6 separate regions of the Homo sapiens genome follow, and regions 2, 3, 4, 5 and 6 are each linked to region 1. Evidence: promoter capture Hi-C in 16 types of primary human blood cells and fetal thymus (Javierre and others, 2016). All regions are on one chromosome and are shown on one strand. Each heading gives the region's core, a stretch centred on a gene start or on the middle of the fragment in contact. The rest is flanking DNA. Distances are from core to core; before and after follow the strand shown.

What was found. The method cuts DNA at HindIII sites, captures the fragments that hold promoters and counts their contacts. A CHiCAGO score of 5 or more calls a contact.
Region 2: a fragment that was not itself captured here is called in contact with the fragment with the promoter of ZNRF1 in region 1 in 1 of 17 cell types (total B cells); the score reaches 5.1 in total B cells.
Region 3: a fragment that was not itself captured here is called in contact with the fragment with the promoter of ZNRF1 in region 1 in 3 of 17 cell types (neutrophils, M1 macrophages and fetal thymus); the score reaches 8.1 in neutrophils.
Region 4: a contact is called between a fragment that was not itself captured here and the fragment with the promoter of ZNRF1 in region 1, in 5 of 17 cell types (M1 macrophages, naive CD8 T cells, fetal thymus and 2 more). The highest score is 9.2, in M1 macrophages.
Region 5: a contact is called between a fragment that was not itself captured here and the fragment with the promoter of ZNRF1 in region 1, in 8 of 17 cell types (fetal thymus, megakaryocytes, naive CD8 T cells and 5 more). The highest score is 7.7, in fetal thymus.
Region 6: a contact is called between a fragment that was not itself captured here and the fragment with the promoter of ZNRF1 in region 1, in 1 of 17 cell types (fetal thymus). The highest score is 5.9, in fetal thymus.

The regions. Positions count from the first base shown.
Region 1 is chr16:74,997,774-75,000,497 of GRCh38, forward strand. ZNRF1 (zinc and ring finger 1) reads left to right here and starts at 1,251. Exons shown (of 5, transcript NM_032268.5): 1 at 1,251-2,322. The coding sequence starts at 1,899. RefSeq lists silencers at 1,043-1,562, 1,963-2,272. The HindIII fragment of the contact is 6,289 bases long and covers 1-2,724 here.
Region 2 is chr16:75,470,027-75,472,750 of GRCh38, forward strand. CHST6 (carbohydrate sulfotransferase 6) reads right to left here. Exons shown (of 3, transcript NM_021615.5): 3 at 2,026-2,724. Among named protein-coding and RNA genes, the nearest start is that of TMEM170A, 6.7 kb to the left of the region's middle. RefSeq lists an enhancer at 1,623-2,265. The HindIII fragment of the contact is 1,875 bases long and covers 381-2,255 here.
Region 3 is chr16:75,445,053-75,447,776 of GRCh38, forward strand. TMEM170A (transmembrane protein 170A) reads right to left here. Exons shown (of 3, transcript NM_145254.3): 3 at 1-2,636. The coding sequence ends at 2,506. Among named protein-coding and RNA genes, the nearest start is that of CFDP1, 13 kb to the left of the region's middle. The HindIII fragment of the contact is 6,922 bases long and covers 1-2,724 here.
Region 4 is chr16:75,393,754-75,396,477 of GRCh38, forward strand. It overlaps CFDP1 (craniofacial development protein 1), which reads right to left. Exons shown (of 7, transcript NM_006324.3): 5 at 1,337-1,456. Among named protein-coding and RNA genes, the nearest start is that of CFDP1, 38 kb to the right of the region's middle. The HindIII fragment of the contact is 193 bases long and covers 1,287-1,479 here.
Region 5 is chr16:75,377,666-75,380,389 of GRCh38, forward strand. The region is part of intron 5 of CFDP1 (craniofacial development protein 1); the gene reads right to left. Among named protein-coding and RNA genes, the nearest start is that of CFDP1, 54 kb to the right of the region's middle. The HindIII fragment of the contact is 3,092 bases long and covers 1-2,724 here.
Region 6 is chr16:74,734,514-74,737,237 of GRCh38, forward strand. The region is part of intron 2 of FA2H (fatty acid 2-hydroxylase); the gene reads right to left. Among named protein-coding and RNA genes, the nearest start is that of MLKL, 35 kb to the left of the region's middle. The HindIII fragment of the contact is 9,725 bases long and covers 1-2,724 here.

The sequences.
Region 1 (2,724 bases), core at 1-2,500:
AGCCTGGGAGGAGCAAGGCTCCGTCTCAAAAAAAAAAAAAAAGAAAAGAAAAAAAAGAAAAAGAAAAACAGGGCGGGCGCGGTGGCTCATGCCTGTAATCCTAACACTTTGGGAGGCCAAGGCAGGTGGATTACCTGAGGTCAGGAGTTCAAGACCAGCCTGGCCAATACGGTGAAACCCCGCCTCTACTAAAAATACAAAAAATTAGCCAGGTGCAGTGTGGCATGTGCCTGTAATCCCAGCTACTCGGGAGGCTGAGGCAGGAGAATCACTTGAATCCGGGAGGCGGAGGTTGCGGTGAGCCGAGGTTACGCCACACCACTCCAGCCTGGGTGACAGGGCGAGATTACGTCTCAAAAACAAAAACAAAACAAAACAAAAAAAACAGTTGTTCAATAAATGAATGTGAATATAGGAGAAAGACGGCTTGAGGTAGCAAAGGAACACTCCCTTGCAAATGATTCAGGCTTGGTCAACAATACACCTATTGAGTACCCACCGTGTCCTTGGCCCGTGGTGAGGGCCGAAACACAGCACATGGTAAACAAAACAGGGCTCCAGCCTTGGACAGAAGGTTTCTATAATCACTTCTAGCTGCGTTGTTCTATTTCCATACCCATATCTATTCACTTTTTATGGTACATCTATTGATTCTGAAAATTACATTTTAGCTAAGGAATCTACTCATTTGCTTAAGCCCAAAATAGGAAGTTATGATCTAGTGTCAGCAAAACGCCGGATTCACAAGTGTCCCCATGGCGCTGTTTACCCCCAAATAACTAAACCCCGCCAAATGTTGAGATTCCGGACGTGAGGGGTGCTTGGATGGGGAACCCCCGAAAGAATGGACATCACGTCCACCAGAGGGTGCTGTGGGGGCAAATTTGTGCCAGGAGGGGAGCTCGACCGGTGACCCTCAGAGCCAGGTAGGCGTAAGGAGTAAATCTCCTTCTTCCCGGTGTTTCCTTCCCACCCCCTCGAACCATTGCTGCCCCTCCCCCATACTTGGTTCCCCCTGAATAATTTGCCACTTTCGGGGACTTAAGAAGTGTTTGCTTTTGAAAGACATCTGGTTTCTGTGGCTAACGCCCAGTGGTCAGGCCGCCCAGGTCACAGGCCGGCCGGGGGCGGGCGGTGGGTGGGGACTGCTGGGGCGTCAGCGGCCCAGGCGCCGCAGGGACCGCGAAAGGGTTAACCCGGCGGGGGGAGGGGGAGGGGGCGCGGGCCGCGCCTGCGCTCTGCCGCCCTCCATTGTCTCCACGGCGGCGAGGAGCGCCGGCGAGCGCAGCCCGGGACCGAGCGGGGCGGCGCGGCTGGCGGGGCCGGCGGCGGCTGAAGCGAGAGCGCGACGCGACGCGACCGCGGCTTCCCGAGCTGCGCCTGGCCGCCCAGCGCCGCGGCCCGCCCGAGGCCTGGAGGGGTCCGGGCCGCCGTCCATGGTCGCGGCGTCCTGAGGCGGGGGACGCGCCCGGCGCCCCCGGCCCTCCTCCGCCTCCTCCCGCGGGGCGGGCGGCCTCCTCCGGCGCCTCCCCGCGCCCGCCCGCCGCTCGCCGCCGCCTCCCTCCCTCCTTCCCTGCGGCTCCCCCGGCTTTCGGAGCCCGGGGGCGGCCTGTGGCGCGCGGAGCCCGCGCCGGACTGCGCCTCTTTGGACCTTGAGGGGAAACATGCGTTTGCCTTGGATCGTTTGAAATTCTGAGTTTGGGATCCCCGCCCGCCCGCCTGCCTCTTCCGCCCCGCGGGTTTTTTCCTTTTTTCCTTTTGCTTTTTTTCCTTTTCTCCCTCCGGGTCTCCTTTTTGACTCCCTCCCCCTTTATGCTCGCCCAGCCCTCCCCCTGCTGCTGAGAAGTGGGGGAGGGTCTCGGCCTCCAGGTTCCCGCCCCACCGGGGCCCGGGCGAGCATGGGGGGCAAGCAGAGCACGGCGGCCCGCTCCCGGGGCCCCTTCCCGGGGGTCTCCACCGATGACAGCGCCGTGCCGCCGCCGGGAGGGGCGCCCCATTTCGGGCACTACCGGACGGGCGGCGGGGCCATGGGGCTGCGCAGCCGCTCGGTCAGCTCGGTGGCAGGCATGGGCATGGACCCCAGCACGGCCGGGGGGGTGCCCTTTGGCCTCTACACCCCCGCCTCCCGGGGCACCGGCGACTCCGAGAGGGCGCCCGGCGGCGGAGGGTCTGCGTCCGACTCCACCTATGCCCATGGCAATGGTTACCAGGAGACGGGCGGCGGTCACCATAGAGACGGGATGCTGTACCTGGGCTCCCGAGCCTCGCTGGCGGATGCTCTACCTCTGCACATCGCACCCAGGTGGTTCAGCTCGCATAGTGGTGAGTCCGCGGGTGGTGGAGGCCTCGGAGGGAGGGCGCGCCGGGGCGCCCCAAGCCTTCGCGTGCGTGCCAAGGTTTGGGAATGTAGTGCACGACCGGGATCTGTCTGCATTCCCTTTGGTTCCCGATGCCAAGGGATAAATGGGATACCTACCGTCTGGAAACTAGGCTTTCTGCGAGGCTGCGGAGCCTGGCGATTTAGGGACTCACGGCGTGTGTTCACTTGTGGAAGGGCAGAGCGAAGCCTACCTATTGGAGTTCCATTTATTGGCATCACCCTCCTCAGAGAAGAGGTCGTGTCTGGCTGAGAGCAAGTCAGCCTGGGTACTTCCATTCTGCCACTGCAGCACTGTGCCTGCCTCACCGGTAACGGAGAGATGGAGCCAGTTGGAGCAAGCAGTG
Region 2 (2,724 bases), core at 68-2,567, 470 kb after region 1:
AAAAAAGACATTTAGCCTTGCAGGACTCAGAAAATGGAGGTTTCCTGGGCCCTGTCTAAGGAAGCCAAGGAGGCGGTCCAGCACACCAGACCCCCTGGCCCCTTGCTGCTCTTTCAACAAGCCAGATGCCTCCCCTCCTTAGGGCTTTTGTGTTAGCTCTTTCCTGCTCCCAGACAGGCTACCCATGATTGCCCTTAACATACTCCCTCACCTCCTGTAAGACTTTCCTCAAATGTCGCTTTCTCACTGAGACCTACCCTGATCACCCCATTAAAAATTACAACTCACACCTCTACACACATATATTCCTCATCCCCCGATCCTTCTCTACTTTAATCCTTGGCACTTTCTAATATGCTAAATAATGTAGCCATTTATTAAGCTTATTCATCAGCTATCTCCCCACCATCAGAATGCAAGTTCCTGAAGGGCAGGGTTGTTGTTGTTGTTGTTTGAGAGAGTCACACTCTATCGCCCAGGCTGGAGTGCAGTGGCGCGATCTCAGCTCACTGCAACCTCCGCCTCCCAGGTTTAAGCGATTCTCCTGCCTCAGCCTCCTGATTAGCTGGGATTACAAGCGTGCACCACCACCACCACGCCTGGCTAATTTTTGTATTTTTAGTAGAGATGGGGTTTCACCATGTTGGCCAGGCTGGTCTCGAACTCCTGACCTCATGATCTGCCTGCCTCGGCCTCCCAAAGTGCTGGGATTACAGGCGTGAGCCACTGCGCCTGGCTGGTTTTTGTTTTGTTTTGTTTTGTTTTGTTTGTTTTTGAGATGGAGTCTCGCTCTGTCGCCCAGGTTGGAGTCCTTTGGCGCCATCTCGGCTCAATTCAACCTCCGCCTCCCGGGTTCAAGCAATTCTCCTGCCTCAGCCTCCTGAGTAGCTGGGACTACAGGTGCATGCCACGATGCCCAGCTAATTTTTATATTTTTAGTAGAGACTGGGTTTCACCATATGGGTCAGGCTGGTCTTGAACTCCTGACCTCAGGTGATCCACCTGCCTCGGCCTCACTAAGGGCTGAGATTAGAGGTGTGAACCACTGCACCCAGCCTAGGGCAGGGGTTTTTGCTTTTTGTCTGTTTTTGGTCCTGCTGTATCTCCAGCTCCTATAATAGCCCAGTGCCTGGTTGGTGCTCAACCCATAATGTGTGTTGAATGAATGAGTGGAGTTCTTGAGGACTGGGAGCAGAATAACACAAGACTTGCAGGACAGGCCAGGTTTTCTGGTCTTACTCCCAAAGGAGAAAATGCTCGATTGGCTGGAATGAATTGCCATCTTGGAAAAATGGATAGTAGGCCAATCCTTTCCATTTCATCAAGACTTTAGCTCTGGTTCTTTCGTTTTTTGTTTGTTTGAGACAGAGTCTCGCTCTATTACCCAGGCTGGAGTGCAGTGGGGCGATCTTGGCTCACTGCAACCTCTACCTCCTGGGTTCAAGCAATTCTCATGCCTCAGCCTCCCAAGTAGCTGGAATTTCAGGCACATACCACCACGCTTGGCTACGTTTTTGTATTTTTTTTAGTAGGGACAGGGTTTCGCCAAGTTGCCCAGGCTGGTCTCGAACTCCTGAGCTCACGCAATCTGCCCACCTTGGCCTCCCAAATTGCTAGCATTACAGCTGCACCCAGCCTAGCTCTGGTTCTTAAGGAACATGGTCTGAATAGAGTCATTCACAGAATAAGGATTTGCACTGTGAGAGGATATTTAAATTGTAAGAGAATCTGCTGGGGGCAGGTGGTGCTTAAATCTAAATCCATTAACTTGTGAAGGTAGTCGGGATAACCCACTGGACCTCAGCATAGGGGTCACTCGACCTAAAGAAATTGCTCGCCTGATCCACTGGTGTGGAGTGGGCCTGTGGGTGAGGGACAGATTCCAGCCCATGGTGGTTTCAGTGTGTGATGAGTGAGATCATTCAGTAGAGGGCGCTGGGAGAACTGATGACTCGCACCGATCAGGAATATTGCATGCAATTTAGATCCAAGCGTAAAACACTAGACTACTAAAGTACTGGAAGCAAGCGTGAAGACCATTTTTATCACTGTAGCAGGACAAAGTCGTTTCAACAAGACATAAAATCCACTGGCCATAAGGAAAGGATTCACATTCAACAATATGATAAACTAGGTGAAACTTTTTGAAATTTGATTGTGATGAGGTGGTGATTTGATTTCACAGGTATATACAAATGTTTAATCAAACTTTACACTTTATGTGCAGATGTTGTATATCAATTATAGCTCAATGAAGCTTCTTTTTTTTTAAGAAGCCTGAGGGGAAAATGCCATAAAGTAAGTTAACAAAACAACAACAACAAAAAACAGATGACAAGCTAGGAGAAACCATTTGCACAACAAAAATAACAAAGCATATTCAAAAGAGGCTGTGGTAAGTCAACAGCAACATGGGCACAGCCTTGAACAATGAAAAAGGAATACAGTTGAGTCATAAGCATGAAAAGATGTTCAGCTGCCCCAGGAATTAAAGAAGTGCAGACTGAAACATCAAGTAACATTTTTCACCCATCAGGTAGGCAAAAATTAAAACCATTGATTTAACCCTGTAGAGGTGATGGGGCAGTTGTGGCAGTGGTGGGGCGCAGTCTGTAGGAGTGGGTGACAAAGGCACATCAAAGACAAAGCTAGGGGACACAGGGTCTGTGGTGGCCATGAGGAGTTGATACAGTGTTGATGTGGATAATATATCTTCTTGATGCA
Region 3 (2,724 bases), core at 70-2,569, 450 kb after region 1:
AGGCATCCTTCAGTAGAGATGATGGCAATCATTTCCCATAAGAAAAGTTACCAATTCCCCAGATTTCTTAAACTGAAGGGATACTTTTGAAAATCACAGCTCTTTAAACAAAAAACTAGAATTTTTACAATTTGCCTGTGAGAAAGATTTGAGCTTCTTGTTAGGGAATTTGTAAGAATATTTGGCTGCATTACAACTCTACTTATAAGTTTCTGCCCGTGTATATGTCACTATAGTTTTGATAAGTTAATTACCAAAATTAGTAATATTATTTTAAGACAGGGTCTTGCCCTGTGGCCTAAGCTGGAGTTCAGTGGCGTGGTCTCGGCTCACAGCAGCCTGAACCTCCCAGGCACAAGTGATCCTCCCACTTTAGCCTCTTGGGTAGCTGAGGCCACGCCCAGCTAATTTTTTTTTATTTTGTAGTAGAGACAAGGTCTCACTATGTTGCCCAGGCCAGTCTTGAACTCTTGGGCTCAAGCAATCCTCCCACATCGACCTCCCAAAGTGCTGGGATTATAGGTGTGAGCCACTGCGCCCAGCCATAAGTGGTCTAATTAGTCAAAAGAATATGTCCAGTTTTTGTGATCTCTTTGTAATTCTTTTCTATGAGTTTCCCTGGCAAATTGGTCCTCCTGACTTTTTTCTTTTTTTTTTTTTTCCAAATTGGGCAGACTCCAGAATCACAGTAGATTCAGAGACTCTCCTCCTGGCTATTTTTAATCAGAAGCCAGAGTGTGTATTGCTTTAAATGGAATAGATACGTTCATGTGTATATGACCTCATGGGCTGTTAAGCCTTAATCTCACAATGAAAACTTTCCTTTAAAGATGTCAGATTTATGGCCAGGCGCGGTGGCTCACGCCTGTAATCCCAGCACTTTGGGAGGCCGAGGCGGGTGGATCACAAGGTCAGGAGTTCAAGACCAGCCTGGGCAAGATGGTGAAACCTATCTCTACTAAAAATACAAAAATTAGCCGGGCACGGTGGCAGGTGCCTGTAATCCCAGCTACTCAGGAAACTGAGGCAGGAGAATCGCTTGAACCCGGGTGGCAGAGGTTGGAGTGAGCTGAGATTGCACCACTGCACTCCAGCCTGGGCAACACAGTGAGGCTCCGTCTCATTTAAAAGAAAAAAAAAAAAAAAAGTCAGATTTAATCACCAGAAACTATTTTGCAGATAACCACCACCACTACCACCACACTGATTGTATTCCATACAAAACAGTTTAGGTGGAAAGGATCACATTAAATACTTAATTTCTGCGATTCTTTCCCTCTCAAAGAGTCACAGTTTTCAGGCCTTTTAATGAAAAAGAAAGTTAGGCAGTAGAATAAAAATTTAAATAGCTAAAATTAAGTTTTAAAAAAACTCTTGATATTTAAATCTCTTTAAAGATATAAATTCTTTTGAATAAAAATGTAAAGGGGAGAGTGGGTACATATCTGAACATTAAACTTTAGGCACTTTCTGGGAGTTGATACCCAATACTGTAAAAGTGGGCTGAAGAGTTACCACTAGGTAAACACATTAAGCTAAAAAATCAATAACCACTAACTCTAGTTTCAGATGCACTTCTATAGTTTCTCAAGGGTCATTAGTATACCAAAGTCACTAAGAAAAACTATGACAGAATGCCTAAAGTATCTTATGTGTGCCTCAATGTCCAAACAAATCTGGCTTAAAATTTCCAACTCAAGCCATTTAATAGGGTATGTATGTTTCCAATTAAATGAAATAAAATTAAGAGAATTAAAAGTGATAGGGAAAGGTGGTACAGAAAATCTAAAAAGTCTAAATTAGCTAGCTTATTTTGATAAAACATACAAAATAACAAATTCACATCTCTTAAAATATCTTAATCAGAAGTCAAGACAGTTGTCCAGAAAATGTCACATTATTCATTGTTATCTACTTTTTATTTATAAACAGTGGAACCAAAGCCACTACTTGAGTTATACTTAAATTTTTTTTCCTGCTTTATTTCACCAAATTTGTTTTCAAAACTATACTCAACCAAAACCTATTTGGCATTTATTGTCACTAAGATGTAGCAAAGAAAAGAGTTTGCCAAATTTTAATCAAGATTAGATAAGATTTTAATACAACATACTCTGCTCATTTGAAATAAACCAGTATCTTCCACGGTTTCTTCAAAATATGCGACATCTCACAGAATACTGTAAATTTCAGTGCAAAGGATGCCACCCCAGAGACACTGTTGACTTGGCTTGGGTAAAGGTACACATGAAAACTGCTTAAATCAAATATCTACAAAAAAGAAAGCCAAAAGACTTGTTTTGGTTGAGAACAATAGGAGTCCACATAAGTCTTCAATTCTAGGAGCTTCAAAATGAAGAAAAGGCTGAGATGTGTTGTCCTTCATGTTCCTGTTCATCCAAGTTGCTTCCCTTTGAAGAACTAAGAAAACACTACACTCCATAATGTATTCTTTTGGAGGATTCCATAAAGTTTAAGTTCAACATCTCAGCATAAGGATGTATGCTATAGAGTAGCTAAAATCCGTAAAAAGGAGACCACCAAGACGCAAAATGTCTGTCCAGTGCCCAGTGTGAGGGCTTCAAATGGTATCATTTCCTTCCCTGCTGCTCGGTAAACTCCAGCAATAGCTGCACCTGATTTAAAATGCAAGAATGTTAAACAAAAACAAAAAACGAAGGTTAACAAACTCACGAAAATACAACATTTAAAATACTACTGCGA
Region 4 (2,724 bases), core at 133-2,632, 400 kb after region 1:
AAAAAAAAAAAAAAAAAAAAGTGGGGCCGGGCCCGGTGGCTCACGCCTGTAATCCTAGCACTTTGGGAAGCCAAGGAGGGCAGATCACGAGGTCAGGAGATCAAGACCATCCTGGCTAACACAGTGAAACCTCGTCTCTACTAAAAATACAAAAGATTAGACGGGCGTGTTGGCACCTGTAGTCCCAGCTACTCAGGAGGCTGAGGCAGAAGAATGACATGAACCCGGGAGGCGGAGCTTGCAGTGAGCCGAGATTGCGCCACTGCACTGCAGCCTGGGTGACAGAGCGAGACTCCACCTCAAAAAAAAAATGTGAAACAAAACTTTACTGCTCATAGCAATGACAGGTATGCTCCAGGAGGGAAGGAAGAGGGGACAATATCTGACTGAAGGGCCACAGAAGCCACTGTAGGAGACTATGCAGAACTCCCCACAGGAGTCAGGTGGGTAGTCAGGGCTATCCATGGTATGGGTCTATGTTCACTTCCCTGTGGCAACAGTCTTAAGCCTCTCTGATTTACTGTAATACTTTACTTCTCACATTTAGGTTAAGAAAAGAATTTTTACTTCTTCCAAAAAGAAAGAATTCTAGCCTTCAGCTAAAAATAACTCAAGTAATATGAAAAATATGAAGGGAGGAAAACCATTAAGTTCCTGACAATGTGTTAAGAAAACTATTTGTAAATCATCTTTGATCTTTTTATGTTCCTCTAAGATCACAGAGGATGGGAGTGAGTGTTCATCGCAAATCTTCATGAAAAGTTCTGCAGAAGGCTGATATTTTCATTTGAAAAGTATTATTTTTAAATGTAAAATTTACACGTTCAGCTTTGTGTTCAATACTATAAACTAGGACTTCTTTTAGGCTGGCAACAAATAAGAAAGCTACAACTAATTTTCTTCGCTTTTTTTTTTTTTTTTTTTTTTTAAGAGACAGGATCTCTCTGTCACCCAGGCTGGAGTGCAGTGGCACAATCACGGCTCACTGCAGCCTCAACCTTCTGGGCTCAAGGGATCCTCCTGCCTCAGCCTCCACAGTAGCTAGGACAGAGGTGCAAGCCACCATGCCCAGCTAATTTTTTTTTTTTTAAGAGACAGGGTCTTACTGTATTGCCCAGGCTGGTCACAAACTCCTGGGTTCAAGCAATCCTCCTGAGAAAGTTATGGCTAATTTTCCTTTGCATCTTCCATTCTGGTAAATATTGCAGCAAAGGCAAAGCAGCATCATAATTCTCTCTCTCAGGCAAGGAGTCTGATCTGCAGCGAAAGTAGGTATTTGCACTGAAAGCTTCTCCAACGTGCCAAGTACATCAGGGAGTGAGACTCAAATACTCACCCTGACCCGGCAGGGAGTGATGGCAGAGCTGAAGGAACATTAGCCTGTGGTTTTTCTTTCTCATTCTGCTTGAAGAAGGATTTGGCCTCTTTAGATGTAGCATCCACTTCCTTAGTTACCCTGTGCCAAGGAAAAAGACATCAAGCTTACAAGAAGAATAAAGAGAAAGAAACAAGCTAGAAAAGGGAATAAAGACAACTAGAAAAAGATCCACTCGGCTTCCAATAAATTCTGGACGCTCAGCATTATGATAAAAGTTTACTATAACTTTCAATAAAGACATTTGCCCAGCCGGGCGTGGTGACTCACGCCTGTACTCCCAGCACTTTGGGAGGCCGAGGCAGGCGGATCACAAGGTCAAGAGATCGAAACTATCCTGGCCAACATGGTGAAATCCCGTCTCTATTAAAAATATAAAAATTAGCTGGGCGTGGTGGCGGGCGCCTGTAGTCCCAGCTACTCGGGAGGCTGAGGCAGCAGAATCACTTGAACCCGGGAGGCAGAGGTTGCAGTGAGCCGAGATCACGCCATTGCACTCCAGCCTGGGCAACAGCACGAGACACCGTCTCAAAAAAATAAAAAAAATAAAAAAACATTTTCCCTCACTAAAATTAACAAATGAAACAACAATGTGTATAAATTTTATCACCCTATAACAACCCAAAGATGAAACAAAATCCCCTAAAACTGGCTAAATTAGCAATAATTTGGGAATGGACGAAAGCAACATGACTGAGAATTTTGTCTAATTTCAAATCTGAAACAATTATCTTCACTAAAACTGAGTCCTAAAGGTTCAAATAAAGGTGTTTATGGTACCTGAGAATTCAGATAAAGAGAGAAGGAGAAATGTTTAATCCCTGCCTAGGCTTTCCAGGTTAACGAAAACACCTGAGGAATGTTGTTTAAATGCAGTCCATCTCCCCTCCATGACTTCTCAGCATGAAACACACTGCAGCAGTCAATACTAAATCTCCATGCTGGTTTACTGATGTGAAGGCTGAAAAAGGCCCTCACACTGCACCCCACATGCAGATTAGCACTCAGCCTTGAAAGCTGAGATGGGGAGATGGAATACTGGGAATATAGGTTATAGAATTGGGAAATAATGCCTAGGTTGGCACTATTTCAAGGAGAAAAACAAGAGTTAAAAAAAAAAATTTGAGGAGACCAGGCACAGTGGCCCATGCCTGTAATCCCAGCACTTTGGGAGGCCAAGGCAGGCGGACCACGAAGTCATGAGTTTGAGACCAGCCTGGCCAACATGGTGAAACCCTGTCTCTACTAAAAATACAAAAAATTAGCCAGGCATAGTGGCAGGCGCCTGTAATCACAGCTACTAGGGAGGCTGAGGCAGGAGAATTGCCTGAACCCAGGAGGTGGAGGTT
Region 5 (2,724 bases), core at 149-2,648, 380 kb after region 1:
CTAAATATGCTCCTAGTTGAAGGTCAGGGAAACCACTCAGAAAGGCCAACAGTTTGCTTCTCCACTTCTCGAGGTTCACTCAGTTCTATTGTGTTCTCATAGGCAGTAAAAACCAAAAGAAAATCATCCAAAGCAACAAACATGCAGTTGCCCCAAACTGCTTTAGCAATAAATAGAATTTCATGCTGAGTGGCAGACTGTTTAGCTCACATTCCTGTAACGTCCCCTACATCTATTTCACGCAGCAACTTCGCTAGCAGTCACCAGCCACAGCCTGAACACTGTAGTAACAGGGCACATTATACATCAAAATCCCTTAGATACATTTTAACCCAGCATCTATGGTAGAAAACAACCAAGAGTTTCTTGTTATCCACAAGGCAAGCCAAAGTTAAGTGCAGGAAAGGCTGAGGGAATACCATGTGCTTCCTTTCTGACTGGAAAACAAGGCTTCCAGGCAACACAGCAGGGTTTCTGTGCACTCTGACAGGGATGTGCGTTGTAAGCTGCATTGCTATGGAAACAACACTTCTACAACTAGAGGACAAGTCAACCTGAAATAAAGGAAATAGCAGGAATTGCAAAATAGGTCTTGTGGAATGAGTAAGGAGCATCTCACGTCTCTGCTTGAACTATGGCATGATTAAGCTGAAATAAAATGTCATTCCAATCATATAACAGACATTTACAGTCTGTTTTTGGGGTCAGCTACTTGCTGAACACAAGCTATGAAACCAAAACCACCCTGCTTTTAAGATGAAAACTGACAAAATATGCAAAACTAAAAGGATAAGAACTAAATTTCCACAGATCAAAGTTTTAAAAAATGGTGATCATTAATAAAAGCTATTCATTTACTCCTTAATCAAATACTATAAATTATTTGCCACGTACCAGGCTGGACACATACAAAAAAGACAAAATCTACGCCTTCAAGCTCACAGCGTAGTGATGGAGACTAAGGTGTAAAACTGACGATGAGGGAGTATGGGATAGTTAGTGCTACAATAAAGGCTATTAAACAAATGCAGTTGCAAAGGGGTAGTAGTTAGAGTTTAGTGCAAGACACAGACACTGACTGGCCGACAAAAAAGGAATTTATTTAAAAGATATTGGGGTAAAAACAAAGATACTGGTCTTTCCAAGTGTCCACAGAATATACAAGACAGACCACATCCTGGCCCATAAAATTAATATCAACAAATTTAAAAGAGTTGAAATCACAAAGAATGTGTTCACCAGCAACATGATCAAACTAGAAAGCAACAACAGAAAGACAACAGAAAACTCTCTGAAAACTTGGAAATGGAACAATACACTTCTAAATAATGCATGGGTCAAAAAGAAAGTCTCAAGGGAATTAAAAAAATAATGAACGGAATAAAATCATACATGTATCAAAAATTGTTGAATATAGCTAAAGCAGTGTGAGGGAAATGTGTAGTAAGAAATACATACAGTGTAAAGAGGAAAAGTCTCAAATCAATAATCTAAGCTCCAACTTCAAGAATCTAGTAAAAAAAAAGAGCAATATATAGGCAAACCAAGCAGAAGCAAGGAAATAATTATAGAAGTAAATGAAATTGAAAACATAAAGGGAAAGATCAATGAAACAGAGCTGGTTCTTTGAACAGATCAATAAAATCGACAAACGTCTAGCAAGACTGACCAAAAAAAAAAGAGAGAGAGAGAGAAGGCACAAATTACCAATATCGGAGGTAATGAAATGGGATATCACTACAAGTATCAAAAGGATAAGAGAATATTATGCAGAATTCTACCCAAATAAATTTGGCAACATAGACTAATTCCTCAAAAAAGACAAACCACAAGACACTCAATATGAAAGAGCCCTGTAACTATTAAGGAAACAATTTGTCATTTAAAAACTCCCAAAAAGGAAATCTCTAGATTAGTGATTACCAGAGGTTAAGGAGGGGGTGAGGGCAGGAGGAAAGTGTATGTAGCTATAGAGAACATGAGGAATCTTAGCAGATATGAAAATGTTCTGTATCTTGACTATATCTGTCAATGTAAATATCCCAGTTGTAATATTATAAGATGGTACCATAGGGGGAAACTGGGTCAAAGGAACAAGGAATCTCTGCACTAGTTTATATGACTACACATGAGTATACAACCTCTTAAAATTAAAGGTTTATTTATTTATTTTTTTAAAGGTAAAGGGATTGCTGGGCGTAGTGGCTCATGCCTGTAATCTAAGCACTTTGGGAGGCCGAGATGGGCATATCACTTGAGCCCAGGAGTTTGAGACCAGCCTGGGCAACATGGTGGAACCCTGTCTCTACTAAAAATACAAAAATTAGACAGGCGTGCAGGTACTCATTTGTAGTCCCAGCTACTTAGGAAGCTGAGGCAGGAAAATCGCTTGAACTCAGGAGGTGGAGGTTGCACTGAGCTGAGATTGTGCCACTGCACTCCAGCCTGGGCAACACAGCAAAACTCCATCTGAAAAAAAAAAAAGAAAGAAAAGCTACATAGGGTATCTGCACTTAAAGCCGATGAACTTCCATTTTAGGCAAGATGGATACTTAAGATAACCTAAACATTTTCCAGATAAAGACCTAGAAATGCTACATAAAATATACCAAAAATTATTTTAAGTGTATAGCTAAACTCATAAGAAAGAATGGGCAACCTCCGGGTATTTGGATCAAAGAAGGAACTGAAAACCACAGTAGAGCACATGAGCTGAAATAGTGG
Region 6 (2,724 bases), core at 119-2,618, 260 kb before region 1:
CCCCAGCCTGCTCGGTCCCTGCCTTAGAGAGAAGGGGAGGGCTTCTCCCAGGCTATGCCAGGAATGTGGCCCACAGCAGCACGGCAGGGGGAAAGGGCAGCCTGCTGCCCAGAGGGTGGGCGGAAGGGCATGGTGCCCCGGTAGAAGGGGGCCTTCCCTGTTTTCCTCCTCCCCCTCCCCAGGACCCCTCCTCCTGGGCAGCACAGGGCCAGGTGGCATAGGACGCTTTCCTGGGGAAGGGTGTGCCCAGAATCTGCTTCTCCCTAAGGTGGCAAATGTGGTGAGCGGGGGCAGGCGGCGGGGGCAGGGTAGCTGCTCAGTGTCAGCAGCACTGCTCACCCCCACAGCGATGAGCTAAGGCAATTGTTTAAAGAAATGTCCACCCAAACTCAGGCATATTGCCCCAGGGCAGCTTTCTGAGCAGAGGTGGAGACAGGCTTCCAGGCAGCCGGGGCTGCGGGAGAGGAGTGGGGGCCGGTTGTCTGCAACCTGGTCGCTGGTCAGCTGGGGCTCAGGCCTCACATCCCCTATCCTTCATGAGCCTTAATTCTGGGAGTTGGGGCCGATGATGACCTCTTTTGACAGATGAGAAGACAGGGTCAGATGTTCGGCTGCATATGCTGTGGCAGGGCCTGGACTCGAGTGCCCCACTCACAGCCCAGGCTCGGCCAGGAGGCCTCCTGTCAGCCAGATTGGGATCCCATGGCTGTGACTTCCTCAGCACAACGGCTGTGATTCCTCACAGCCAGCAGCGGTCAGTGGGGGCAGTGAGGTGGGGCTCTTGGTGGCGTTGCCGGAGTGGCTGCAGGCCCGTCCTGCGCGGTCTAACTGGGACAAGCTGAAGTCCACAGAGGTGGTTCCGGATCACCTGCCTCCTCCCCCTGAGCCCTATGACCCTCCCGTCACCCAGGGGATGTGAGGACAGGGAGGTGGCCTCAGGCTCACCCCACGAGGATTCAGGCAGCGGAGAGTGGATAGGGAGCAAAAATGCCAGAGACACAGGGAGAGATGAAAGACAGCTTGAGCGCTGGCAGAAAGCAGGCATGACCTCTGCCCTTAGGGCTGAAGACGAGCGAAGGGAGCCTGCCCAGGGGCCCCACCCCAAAACCAGGTAGGGTGGTCTTTCCCTTGCAGCACACTTTCTGATATCCTTTAGTACATTCCACTAGATCCTCCAGATAATCCTACGCAATAATAAGATGCAGGGTTGCAATCCCAGCACCTTGGGAGGCCAAGGTGGGAGGATCACTGAGGCTGGGAGTTTGAGACCAGCCTGGACAACATAGCAAGACCCTATCTCTACAAAAAAATTTAAGAAAATTAGCCAGGCATGGTGGTATGCACCTGTAGTCCCAGCTAATTAGGAAGCTGAGGTGGGAGGATGGCTCAAGCCTGGGAGGTTGAGGCTGCAGTGAGCTGCAATCTTGCCACTGTACTCCAGCCTGGGTAACAGAGTGAGAACCTGTCTCTAAAAAAATAAAAAAGATAGAGGGAATAGCTTTCTGCATCATACTGGAACACTGTGGCATCTCTTGCCTCCCAGCCTGCCCTGTCCACTGCCCTCCCAGGGTGTCCTCTAAGACCCACGGAAGCAGAGGGCAGTGCCCAGCCCACCTGCCTGCTTTCTGCCTTGGGGTATTTTTTGAGCACCGCTGAGCTCCTCTGAAGAGGGGCCAGGAGCTCTGAGCAAGGAGGCAGGCAGAGAGGAGACTCAGGGACTCTAAGCCCAGTATGGACAGCCTTGGGGAGGCCCTTTGGATGTTGGGCCCTCCAGACCCCTACTCTGGCTGGGAGGGATTATAGAGAGAAAGGAGGCCCAAGGGGACCCAAGGCGACTAGGCAGGCAGGGTGCCTAGAGGAGAGCCAGGCCAGTGCCCACAGTGCCAAGGCTGGTCCCCCCGAGAGTGTGTTGGCCAAAAGGGCCCTTTCTCTGATCTGGATGCTATCTTCCTGAGTTCTCAGTGACTGATCTGGGGGTCCTAAATGGGCAAAACACTATGGCCAACTTCAATAGCCTTTCCAGGCCCTGGGGACCCTGGTGGTCTGTGTTATGTCAGGCAGGGGGCAGGGACAGGGAGTTTGGGGATGCCTGCTGGATGCGTCTATCTGTCCCTTGAGGGAAGAGGCTGATCACACCCATTGGCCAGCCCCAGCAGCTGGTTATGCCAGCATCTGGCTTAGCCTGAGGAAGGATGGGGAAGAGGATGTGGCTGGCTTGGGAGACACTGCTGGTATCTGCTCAGCCTCCTCCCTCCCTCTGCCACTCCCTCTCCTACTCACCGGCCTCAGGGTCTTATTCATGGTCAGCTGTTGGGGTGGGAAGGTTCCAGGACCTTGTGGAGGGGAGGGGCCGCTATCTGGGCTGCTAGTGTGCCCAGAGGTGACTTTGGGCGGGAGATTTAAGCTCTTCCTTATCAGTTAAATCAGGATAATTATAATCCTTATCCCTCGTGCTGTCAGCAGGATTAAAGCAGATAACCAATAATACATTGAAAGCGGCTGGCACACAGTGAGGGCTCAGTACAAGAGATGTGAATTCAGGGCTAACTCCGCTGCTGAGCATCTGGGCAGCGAACTTCTGCAAACCCCTCAAATCACACCTGTTCTTGCCCCCTCCCCAAAGGGAGGCTGGTCCCCCGGGTGGAAAGGGTGGAGAGGGCTCCCAAGGGAGGGCTCCGAAAAGGACATGGCGAAGTGGCAAAAAGAGGCTGCTGGACCAGGGGG